3 separate regions of the Homo sapiens genome follow, and all the other regions are linked to region 3. Evidence: promoter capture Hi-C in 16 types of primary human blood cells and fetal thymus (Javierre and others, 2016). All regions are on one chromosome and are shown on one strand. The core of a region is centred on a gene start or on the middle of the fragment in contact, and the rest is flanking DNA. Distances in the headings are between cores, read along the strand shown. Region 1 has its middle 500 kb from the start of LINC00562. Region 2 has its middle 490 kb from the start of LINC00562. Region 3 holds the start of HTR2A (5-hydroxytryptamine receptor 2A).

Evidence for each region. Contacts are between HindIII fragments. The CHiCAGO score rates a contact against its expected background, and 5 or more counts as called.
Region 1: a fragment that was not itself captured here is called in contact with the fragment with the promoter of HTR2A in region 3 in 2 of 17 cell types (M0 macrophages and M2 macrophages); the score reaches 8.2 in M0 macrophages.
Region 2: a fragment that was not itself captured here is called in contact with the fragment with the promoter of HTR2A in region 3 in 3 of 17 cell types (M0 macrophages, M1 macrophages and M2 macrophages); the score reaches 9.4 in M0 macrophages.

The regions. Positions count from the first base shown.
Region 1 is chr13:47,425,685-47,429,662 of GRCh38, reverse strand. No RefSeq gene overlaps it. Among named protein-coding and RNA genes, the nearest start is that of LINC00562, 500 kb to the left of the region's middle. The HindIII fragment of the contact is 397 bases long and covers 2,110-2,506 here.
Region 2 is chr13:47,445,531-47,449,321 of GRCh38, reverse strand. No RefSeq gene overlaps it. Among named protein-coding and RNA genes, the nearest start is that of LINC00562, 490 kb to the left of the region's middle. The HindIII fragment of the contact is 322 bases long and covers 1,684-2,005 here.
Region 3 is chr13:46,895,070-46,898,777 of GRCh38, reverse strand. It overlaps HTR2A (5-hydroxytryptamine receptor 2A), which reads left to right and starts at 1,725. Exons shown (of 4, transcript NM_000621.5): 1 at 1,725-2,104; 2 at 2,544-3,283. The coding sequence starts at 2,872. The HindIII fragment of the contact is 5,377 bases long and covers 1-3,708 here.

The DNA.
Region 1 (3,978 bases), core at 1,059-3,558, 530 kb before region 3:
ACTCATGCTTTCCTCTACCTTCTTGAACATATGAAATAGATTTACAATGACTGTTTTAGTATCCTTTTCTTCTATTTCTCTCAGCTATGTTATTTTTGAGTATGATTCTACAGATTGATTTTTTTCTTACTATATTTTGTATTTTCTTTCTTATTTTCATGCCTAGTATTTTTTATGTGATGACAGATAGTGTGAATTTTTCATTGTTGGCTGCTGCATTTTTCTGCATTCCTCTAATCTTGAGATTTGTTCCGGGGTGCAGTTAAGTTACTTGAAAATTGTTTGATTATTTCAAGTTTTCCATGCAAGCATTGCTATGTGGGACCAGAGCAGCCTTTAGTCCAGCTCTAATTGCCCCCCATGACTTAGGCAACACCCTTGTGAATATCCTACTTAATGTTCTGTGCAGTATGGGGTTTCTCAACTCTGGCTGTTGGAATTGTGAATTATTCTTAGCCCTGTGAGAATTCTGAGGATTGTTCTCTCCCTGCTTTTATCTAGAAATTCTTCTCTTAGCCTTAAGTACTTTCCTCACAAAGATTCACTGAAAAGTCTGCTGAAGATCTGAGGGAAACCCTCTAAAGAAGTCCAAGGCTCTCTTTCTGCAATGCTCTCCCCTTTCCTATAATCTTTCCTGCAAATTCTAAACACCTTGTCATCCCTCAGTTCTAAACTCTATCTCCCTATCACAGGGAGATTGAGATGCTCTGTTTGATACCCTCCTTCCTGCTCTTCAGCCTGGACATGTTCTGGAAACCATCGGTCTCACATCTCACTTGTTCTCTTCTCTCAAGAATCTGCACTGCCTTTCATCTAAAGTCTGAAAACTTGTTATATATATTTTGTGTGATTTTCAGTTGTTGAATGGGGGAGGAATGGCTATGACTGTTACTCCAGAAGCAGAAGTTGACAGGCTGGAACTTTAGAAGCTATCATTATAACAATGAAGAGAACTTTATTATTTTGTGCCCACGTGAACCCTAGAAATTTTCATTTTCTCGAAGCACTTAATTTAATTTCTTTACAGGCAAGTAGGCCAGGTTTTACTTTTATGAGCAAAGGTCCACTGTCTGGGCTCTTCATGCTTAGAAATTGTTATGCTTTTAAAAATAACAATTTTAAAAACATGGGAGCGGACCTGGTCATATGCTTCACTTCTGCATCACCAAGCTGCACGCCCTTCCCTCACAAATAAAAAAATTGTCTCCCATTCTTGCCTCTTTTTTGATACCCCAATTACATATATGTGGGGTTATGGCTACATAATGGATGTGGCTGTTTTATTGGCTAAGTGGTCTGCAGTTCATATTTATTGACCTTCAATTACACCTTTAATTTTCACTTTTTCTTCCTGCCACTTGCTCTGCTTGCTGACTCTTAGCTCAGAGGTGTTCAGATCTCTGCCCAACTAACTGACCAGCCTCTCTGTAGTTTCTTCCAAGTGTACTCAAGGCTTCAGTGTCTCTGCCTGCTTCATTCATTAACCTGCTTATGTGCTTCCCACTTCCAAAGGTTTGTTAAGATGTTTCATTCATTCACTTATTCATCCTCTTTCTTTCAGTGCTTGTTTCTTTTCCCACCTCCCCCTTTTTATTATTTGTGAGGGAAGGGCGTGCAGCTTGGTAATGCAGAAGGTAAAACGTATGCTCAGTCCACCACCATCTTTGGGCTTTTAAAAATAAACTTCCTTCAACTTATGTCACATGCTGACTTTTTTGGACTTCAGGGAAGTTTACATTTATTACAGTTTACAACTTTTATATTTACATTTGTTTACAGATTGGAACTTGTGCCTGTTTCTATCTAAAAGGATTGTTTCCTGTGCCATATTTCTCACTTAAGCTATAGAGAGCATGTGCTGCTCTTTGATTAGCCACTCAGATATCCTGGAAAAACAACTTTTCTAGATTCCAATCCTAACACGCTCAACTCTCCAATAACCAGCTGTTTTTATTCTCATACTCAGGGAATATAACATCTGCATGAATAAAATCACGGGTCTTTTCCTCCTCTTGAGGGCAACTTCCACATTTCTCAAGCATCAGTCCTCTCCAGAAACTCAAAGTAAAATCACTTAGGGTTCTCCTAAGGCTCCAGCCTATCTAAGCTTCTAATCCAACCCTGGAAGTGGTAGAAATTATTTTAACCTGTTGGCTTTTACAATGAAGATTTAAATTGTTTAGCTATGTCACACACTGATTCTATGTGAACTGGTATAAAAGGGCAAGAAATAGCCCTCCGAGAGCCTGGATACCATACCTAATGATGACTGCCCACATTCCATAAAGTGATCCCCAAAGATGTAGCCAATAACAGAGGTTAGGAAGAAAGTCTTGATTAAATACAAATATCAGCAAATGGCTGTGTTATGAGAAGTACATAAGTGAAGAATATGTGTGTCTGTAAAGATTAAACCGTAAAAAGGACATTGTATATGTTCCACTGAATTGTTTTTTATGGACAATCCCAAGGCTAATTTATATTACTCTTTCTTTCTTAGTAAGCTTTGACAGTCTCTACTCGGATATTTGATTATCCTATTAGTTTTCCTTTTTCTAAAAAAAAAAAAAAAGTAAAAGAATATGGGTTTAACCTATGTGGAAGAAGACAGCCATTTTTAAAGTGCATGTATCTCATTGTACTGTCTGCTCTTCTGAACAGTGAGAGATGACAGATCCAGGTTTATAGTCCTGTGTCCAAGCTACATATTCATGTGAAGGAAAAGACCAGGACCCAAACCCTCAGGGTCATATCCCTTTTCTCAGCCATGGGATATTGGGGGAGGGGTGCCAACAGAAAAATAGTGGCATCTCTAAGGTATTCCTCTCCTATTCCTTTCTCAGTCTTCACATCTCTAATACCTCAGGGGAATGTAAAATTCTGTGACCATATACAGGCACCCAAAGGAAAATAGAATTAAGGTGTACTTTTTCTGAGCTATCTTGTCCTCCTGCCAGGATTCAGTCAAGTCAATAAGTCTATTTTTTCCCCCAAGGCTAATATTGCCTCATGGAAGTTCATGTTGTCCAGGAATCCAAAAAGCCACTTTTGTAAGACTTTGGAAGTAGGACAACTTCCAGTGACTTTCTCGGATTAAGCATAATAAAATTAAAAGGGCTCGATGTAGCAGATTGTATTTTCTAAAGAAGTCCCCAATAATATTAATCTTCTGCATGCTTTTCTTCAGTGTGGCCTCCTCTGTCCTCTTATTCATTCTTTTGAATCTGGGTGGGCTTGTAGCCACATGAGCCAATAGAGTATAGCAGAAGTGATGCTATGACTAAGGCATAAATGGTGATGCAGCTTTTGCCTTCTTGGCTGGAGCACTCGCTCTTGGAGCCCTAAGCTGTTGCATAAGTAGTCTGACTACATTGTCACAAGCTTGTTGGAAGGAAGCCCAGAACAAATGAAGAGCCCACATACCACTGGTATGGTAGACAACACCAGCTGAGGTCCCAGGTAACTGCCAGTGTCAAATGACAATATGTTAGCATAGTCTTTTCCAAAAATAATGTACACATAACTGAATATCCACATGCAAAAAAGACCCATAATTTATACCTCATGCAAACAATCTTGGATATAGATGCATGTACAAAAACTAACTCCTCAGAATGGATCTAAATATAAAGCCTAAAATTTCTAGATGACTACATAGTAAATGTTTGTGATCTTGGGTTCACAAGTAATTTCTCAGATAAGACACAAAAATACAATCAATTTATAGACTGTAAAGTGACACTGAATTTCAGCGAAAAGAGTAACTTATATAGATGTTGGACTCAAAGCTGTTGCACTGGAAACGACAGTGTCTTATTCTTCAGTGGTTGGCGGGGAAGGGGCCAACTGAAACACAGAGAAGACAAAGCAGCTGATATTAGCTCAACAAAACTACAAGGAGGATTGGATCACAAAAAACTAGAAATTGTGAATTGTTTATAGTCAACCCAAAGGAAGGTTTGACTATAAAGAGGCATG
Region 2 (3,791 bases), core at 595-3,094, 550 kb before region 3:
ATGTTAGAGAGTGGTGTTTTCCTTGTGATGACTAAAGAGATTAAAAAATTAGCATTGTTGAGACATTTTCTCCATATAGATTATTTGGCCTTTGGTCCATGTGTTAATCAGAATTCTCTGAAGAAACAGAACCAATAGAACGTGTATCTGTCTATCCATCCATCCATCCATCTATCGAGAGATATTGGCTATAAGGAATTGGCTGACATGATTATGGGGCTGAGAAGTCTCCAGATCTGCAGCTGGCAAGCTGGAGACCCAGGAGAGCTAGTGGTATAGTTCCAGTCCAAGTCTGAAGGCCTGAGAACCAGGAGAACTGAGGAGGTAAGCTCCAGTCTGAGTCTGAGTTCAAAGGCAGAAGACTGATGTCCCAGCCCCAAAACAGTCAGAGAGAGCGGATTCTTCCTTACTGAGCTTTTTGTTCTATTCAGGTCTTCAGTGGATTGGATGAGGCCCACCCACATTGGGGAAGGCAATCTGTTTCACTCAGTATACAGATTCAAACTTTAATCTCTTTTAAAAATACCCTCACAGACAAATCCAGGATAATATTTAACCAAATATCTGGGCAGCCCATGGCCCAGTCAAGTTGCCACATAAAATTAACCATCACAGTCACTTTTCATTTTTTTCCTCCTATGGGGTTGGTACTGTAAGATAGTTCACAGATTGGTTACCATTTGGGAAGAAAAAATAACATCTTTTGCCCTTGATCCCCTTCAAATTTCCTTAGCATGCCTAGCTGGAACAGATAGGATTGAAGGGGCACAACTAGAGCCAGAGTTCCCACGCCTGCCTCTTTCTAGGGAGAAATAGTCTCTGTGGTTTAAATATACTGTACGTCTTCTCCATAGGAGACTAAAGAGGGACTTGAGGCCAAATCCCATAATAGGCAATGTCATTTTTCTGGCCTCATTTTCTGTGAATATCACCTCAGTACAAAAGAAGAGAACTAGGTAGAATTTGTATGCCCTGATCTTATCTATATATTAGACACAAGTGACATAAGTTTGTAGCAAATTTTTACCAATAACTGACCCAGGGTCTGGTAACACTCCTTCATTTCATTTACTCAACAAATATCTTAGTGCCTATTAAATACAGGTATCAGAAGTAGAGCATAGAAGTCAGGTCTTTGTCTTTATATAAAAGACAAACATATTCTGAGTTTGTTGTTGAATAGTTAGTGTGTTTCTGGTGTCTGTGAGTCTGAAATCAATAGTTTTATTGAAAATAGTATGCAGAACCAAGATGTCATTCTAGTTGAGCAACTTTATTTTACTTGTCAAATTTCCCAGAATATAGAATAAGATTGCCAAAATCAGTTAAAGAAAACAAGTTGCTGAGTGAGAGAGAAAAAGCTCTTTCACATCTTGAGTGAGTATCAAGGGCTGGCGAATGAAGTGACTGCCAGGGCAGGTGGGGTGAGACCCATGAGTGACATTCTGCAGTATTTTCCTGCTGACTTCCCATGCCTAAGAGCATCACAGGGAATGTAAGCAAAGTACTTCAGTGAGTTTAGGAGATAATTATAATGCCTATTTAACCCCCAGTTCCAACCCAAGTTCATAACCAATTGAGAGATGAATGCAGGAATCCTGTATCTGGCCATGGAAATATTAGCTTTATTACCAGGAAAGCTACACTGAAGAATATTTGAAATATAATGGCATGAATTAAGCTTTCTGATACAGTGCTATCTCCTCAGACTCAGGCAGGATTATCTAAATGGTAGTTCTTCCCTATCAGGGCAGATTGTGTGGGGCAGAAGTTCCTACTCTAGGTGCTATTATGGACCATTGTTAGGAGAGAAGAGTTTTCCTCTCTACTATTTCTTGTTTCAGAATCAATGAATGCCGATTTGTGGCATATTCTTCAGTGTCACCTTTTTCAGGTTCTTCCATGGCTGATAAACTTCCTTCCCTTAAGAGGCATTTTACAAGACATTAAAACACACTCCCCATCACCCTCTCTTGGGAGAAGTTAGTCCAGATATAAGAAAGCTTACGATCTAGCCCCAGTGTCCTACTCAGTTTCAGTATGGGCTTTAGCCTGTATGCACAATTTCTCCATGAGGGATTAATTCATGAGCATCTCACAATTCAACAAGCCATTTATTCCATTATCCCTAAAGGATAACTGAAAGTTTAAATAGTAGAATCATAGTTACTTTCTTATTGCTAAGAACTATCTCCTTTCATTACCTAGGAACCACCCCAAATAAAATCGAGAAGGTATATCTGTCCTCAGGGACAACCTGTGTACCCCTTATCTTTAGCAACTCCTCCTTCAGGGAACCACAGCTCAAAGTGGCCCAGAACCTTTCTCCCAGGCACCTGCTGTGTTGAGAAACACTGTGTGTTTTATTATTTCACTCTGGTTTACTTCCTACTAAAGAGGATACAATTAGGCTTGAACAATAAAACAAATTCTATCACAGTGTAAGCAAGTTTTACGTCTCATGCAATGGTCATGTTTTCTCTAATTAAAGAATACTTGCTCCTAGAAGGCTGTAAGGCAATATTTCCCAATGTGTAGTCCTCTTTCCTTGAATGTTAATCCATTCTATGTGGTGAGGGGAAGGCTTTCATGGTCAAAAGACCCTCTTGGCTATTTTGAACAGATTTCTTTGGCTTAGGACTTCACAGAGCCCTTATTTTGTTATAGTACTCTGTGAATCTCTGTGGAAGGACATAATATGTGACTCTTTATTTGTGCAACATTCCATGAGACCACTTTTTCATGAAAACACAATTTGGGAAACATTAAAGATGTCCAGCTAACAGTGGTGATTGCAGACATAATGACAGATGGTTGAGGGGACAAATATTTATTTTTGGCCAATTAAAAAGTGGGCTCCCTTTCTTTCATAATGAATAACTAAGAGACCCAAGGCAATCCAGTGTAGTTAGGAAAAGGCAGTGGAATCCAAAGAACAAGGGCTTTGTTGAGAATATGATCTTGATTTAAACCATGTACCAGCTGAATAAAATTAGTAAATTTATTAGCCCTTAGAGCCTTGTTTGTCTACAAAAGTGGTTGTAATAATTCTTATTTGGTGAGGATATTCAAATGATTTTCTGAGATAATTCTGCAAGGACCTAGAAAAGTCTTTGGAAAAGAATGTTTGTAAAATTAATTTTCATGTCTTTTCCTTCTCCACGATTTTTTCTCTATCTTCTCAGGGATTAAATTTGAAATATAGGGTAAATATAGTTTTTCACTTCTCTAGAAAACCTCCTCTATTTTACACGATAACTTGAAATAAGCATTCACTGAGCATTTACTATGTATATATGTATGTATGTATGTATATATACCAGTTATTATGATCTAGCTTAATGGGAATAATTAAGATAAAAGAGACACAAACTTTGCCCTAATGTGATATTTTGTCTAGTATTCAGTCAGGTAAACAAATGCAGTTGTGTCATATGATTATAAACAATGGTTTATAATTTTATAGCATTTTTACATGTATTATCTAATTTAATCTTCACAAGAACTTTTGAAATAGATATTATTATTTCTCCATTTCTATATAAAGAAAAATGGAGCTCAGGGAAGTTGAGCAACTTGGTCAAAGTCACTCAGCTGCCAACACCAAGAGTATAAACAAGAATCCAAGTCCTGTAACTTAAATCTGGCAACCTTTTCACTCTTTTTGTGGTGACTATACTCACCACATTTTAAGTGACAATATCCTAGATAATTTTTTCTTTTTAAATGAAGGCCATGGGATTTCCTGTCAAAACAATGACTTACTGTCAAAGAGTCTAAGAACACCTTAG
Region 3 (3,708 bases), core at 476-2,975:
GGTAGGCCTGGGATCCAGAGCTGCTCTGGAACTAAGCACGAATTTGCCAGATGGACACACACAAAAAAGGAATGGTAAGAGCACTCCGGGCACAGGGAAGTACAAGTACAGAGACATAAAAATGGTCAGAAACATGTAAGTTCAGTCTGCATACAGGCTGACTGGGAGAGTAACCAGAGTCCAGGCCTGCAAAGTGGGGCAAGCAGGGTACAGGTAGATGAAGAAAAGTGTTATGTGCCCCACAAGGAAGGGACTGCAGGAGTGTAGGCATGGGAGTGATGCCAATTGTGTCATTAATATCAGTAAGAATATCAATAGGAATGAAAGTGGCTGACATTACTTGAGAACCTCCTATAAGCCAGACATGGGCCAAATACTTACACACATTATCTCAGTTTAGCTTCACTACAATCTTATGAGGAAGGTATTATCCCATTTTACAAGTGAGAAGACTGAGCTTTAAAGGGAGCAACTAGATGAGGCGAGGTTCTACTGTTTATGAGTGATAGAGCTAGGATCCAAAACCAAGGAACTCTAAGGTCTGTGTTCTCCGCTGCCTGCTCGCCAGCGTGCATATTTAACGTGGAGGGGTAGGAGGGTGGCAGGCATGGCAGTGAGGGGGGCACTAAGGCACCCACCCAGGAAATAGGTGGCTAGATCTCGACCACAGGGTGCCAGCTGCAGGCTGCAGGAGAGGACATGTGAGAAACACGCATACAGAGGTAGCACCGGAGACGAAGTGGGATCTGGCAGCGAGAATGAAGGAAGAGTCGCGGATAACAGCAGCTGTCTGAAGAGGTGGTGATTCCATCATGCAAGCCAATGGGTAGGAACAAGCACTGAGAGCCGGGCAGGGGGATGCGGAGTGAGGGAAGATGCTGAGGTCAAGGTCTCCCAGGCTACCATGGAAGGAGCCAATGGGCAGCTAGAGATTTAGGTCTGGAACTGAGAGAAATAATCAGCTATGAAGGTACAGACTTGGCCACAAACATATTGAAGGCATGAGAGTGGTTGAATTTGTCCAGGGAGAATGTGAAGAACAGAAGGTGATAGAACTGTAGCAAAACCCAACTATTGAGGAAAATATTTTCATGCCTGCAAAAAGAGAGAGATCGAACTGCCTCCTTTAGAAACCTACTTGGGAAAGGGCTTTCTTTACAAGTAAGGCAAGTTGTCATTACTGGTGGGGGAAAAAAATTGGTACTGCGAAACCAACTTATTTCCTACCACATGTGAGGTTTTGAATAATATCTGGGTGGCATATTTCTGCTGAAGAAAATAAGCCAGTTCAATGGTGTATCTATTAAATAAAAATAGTGCTAATAGTTTATCAGAGTTATCACCACAGACGTGCCTAGCCACCCTGAGCCTATGTGGCCAATGTCAGTAATTCCACTCTGGACACAAACACTGTTGGCTTTGGATGGAAGTGCCGGACACTCACAGCACTCCGAGGACATACTGTTTTCTAGCCTTATTTATGTTCTCTCTTCACCCTTCAGCCTAAAAAATTACCACAGTGCCACTTACCTACCTTAATGGGAATCTGCACAAAAGGCCATTTCTCCAGTTTCTCTCAAAAGCAAAGGAAAACTTCCCAATATTAATATGTAGCAAAAAGAGGGAGAAGAAAAAGCCTGTTTGGTCCGCCCTCCTGGCTGTTGCTACCTTGCAGCTTATGACATACACATAGAGGGAGGTCTGATGAAATGAACGAGACAGTCAGAGAGCTACTCCATTCCCGTGGAAACCAGGAGTCCCTTGGTGCAGACAGCTCTTCCTACTTTCCCATGCAGTTCTTTTGTGCGACTTTGAGGGGCTCGTGAATGATTTCTAAATGTGTGCCTGCTGAGGCGAGCCGCACAGGGAGGGAGGAACCCAGCCGAGCCGTGCCAGAGGAAGCCAACAGGATCCTAGCAGTGCGGGAGCTGGCTCAGCTCTTGCATGCAGTTTTTGAAGTCAGCAAAACAGAAACCAAATTACTATCATATTATGCTGGTGGAAGATCAAGAAGAGGGGACTCTACACCAGTTTAATTACTGTGAGAGATGCAGCGAGTCACAGAATAACAAATGTATCTCATGTGTGGACCCTGAAGACAAATGTAAGTTCTCATGCCGCTATATTTTATTGCTGTGTAATTTTCTTTCCGGTTTGAAATCATGCTTGGCCAACATGTAATCATTTCAATGAGAATTTCCAGGGAGGAAAGTTGTCTGCTAATCTTTACTTAAGACTTTTTTGTTTTCCTTTTATTAGCTAAGCAACATTATAGGAGCTGAAATTCCTGACAGCAGCTGTGGCAATTCAGCTTAAGAATGGCTGAGAACTGTAACCCAAAGTACATCCAATTACTATGGGATTAACACTGGATGTATTTTTAATTGACTTTCTTAATGTAGAATGTGTACATCCCCACTGTTTCTGATTGCATGCTATTTTAATAATACTGTTGCTAAACTAGTACCATCGGCATAACCAACAAAATGAGATATAGTTAAACAAGAGTCCCAGTAGTTATAAAACTTTTCTTCTTTGTCCAGGACATTTATCTTCCCGAGCGCTCAAAAAAAACCCTGCAACCTCTATGCTAAAAGTTCATTCTGCTTTTTTGTCCTCGGTTTGGTGAGAAAATAATAAAACCAAACAGTGGACTCTCCTAAAATTGTGAATGAAGAAAACTTACAGCCACCACAGTTCAGTTCTTTAACTATCATTGTAATAATGGAAGACAAAAATCCAGCCCCGGGAGAACAGCATGTACACCAGCCTCAGTGTTACAGAGTGTGGGTACATCAAGGTGAATGGTGAGCAGAAACTATAACCTGTTAGTCCTTCTACACCTCATCTGCTACAAGTTCTGGCTTAGACATGGATATTCTTTGTGAAGAAAATACTTCTTTGAGCTCAACTACGAACTCCCTAATGCAATTAAATGATGACACCAGGCTCTACAGTAATGACTTTAACTCCGGAGAAGCTAACACTTCTGATGCATTTAACTGGACAGTCGACTCTGAAAATCGAACCAACCTTTCCTGTGAAGGGTGCCTCTCACCGTCGTGTCTCTCCTTACTTCATCTCCAGGAAAAAAACTGGTCTGCTTTACTGACAGCCGTAGTGATTATTCTAACTATTGCTGGAAACATACTCGTCATCATGGCAGTGTCCCTAGAGAAAAAGCTGCAGAATGCCACCAACTATTTCCTGATGTCACTTGCCATAGCTGATATGCTGCTGGGTTTCCTTGTCATGCCCGTGTCCATGTTAACCATCCTGTATGGTGAGTGGCATTAGTTTCCCAGCTATATTCGCACTGGTAATAAAGAGCATGTGCATGCCACCAGCAGATGAGATGGGGCTCAGGGGGCAAACAAACTATAAATAGAAGTCTTTGTTTATAGACTAGAGCCTACTATGTTACTTATATTTTACTCTTAAAATGGGATTTCACATAAAAATCAGACAGTCTATGACCTGTGATCACTGGAGAGTTTTGTGCTTCAAAACGCGTACATCCTGTGTAAAAATGATCATTGGAGAGTTTTGTGCTTCAAAACATGTACATTTAATGTAGAAATTTTTATAAATTACCCCATACAGTCATAAACCAATAACTTACCCATCATTCTGAATCTACTTGATTTTTGCTTCTTTATATTCCCAACCAATATTCCAGCCTTCAGGACAGAACAGTTTTAATCTTTG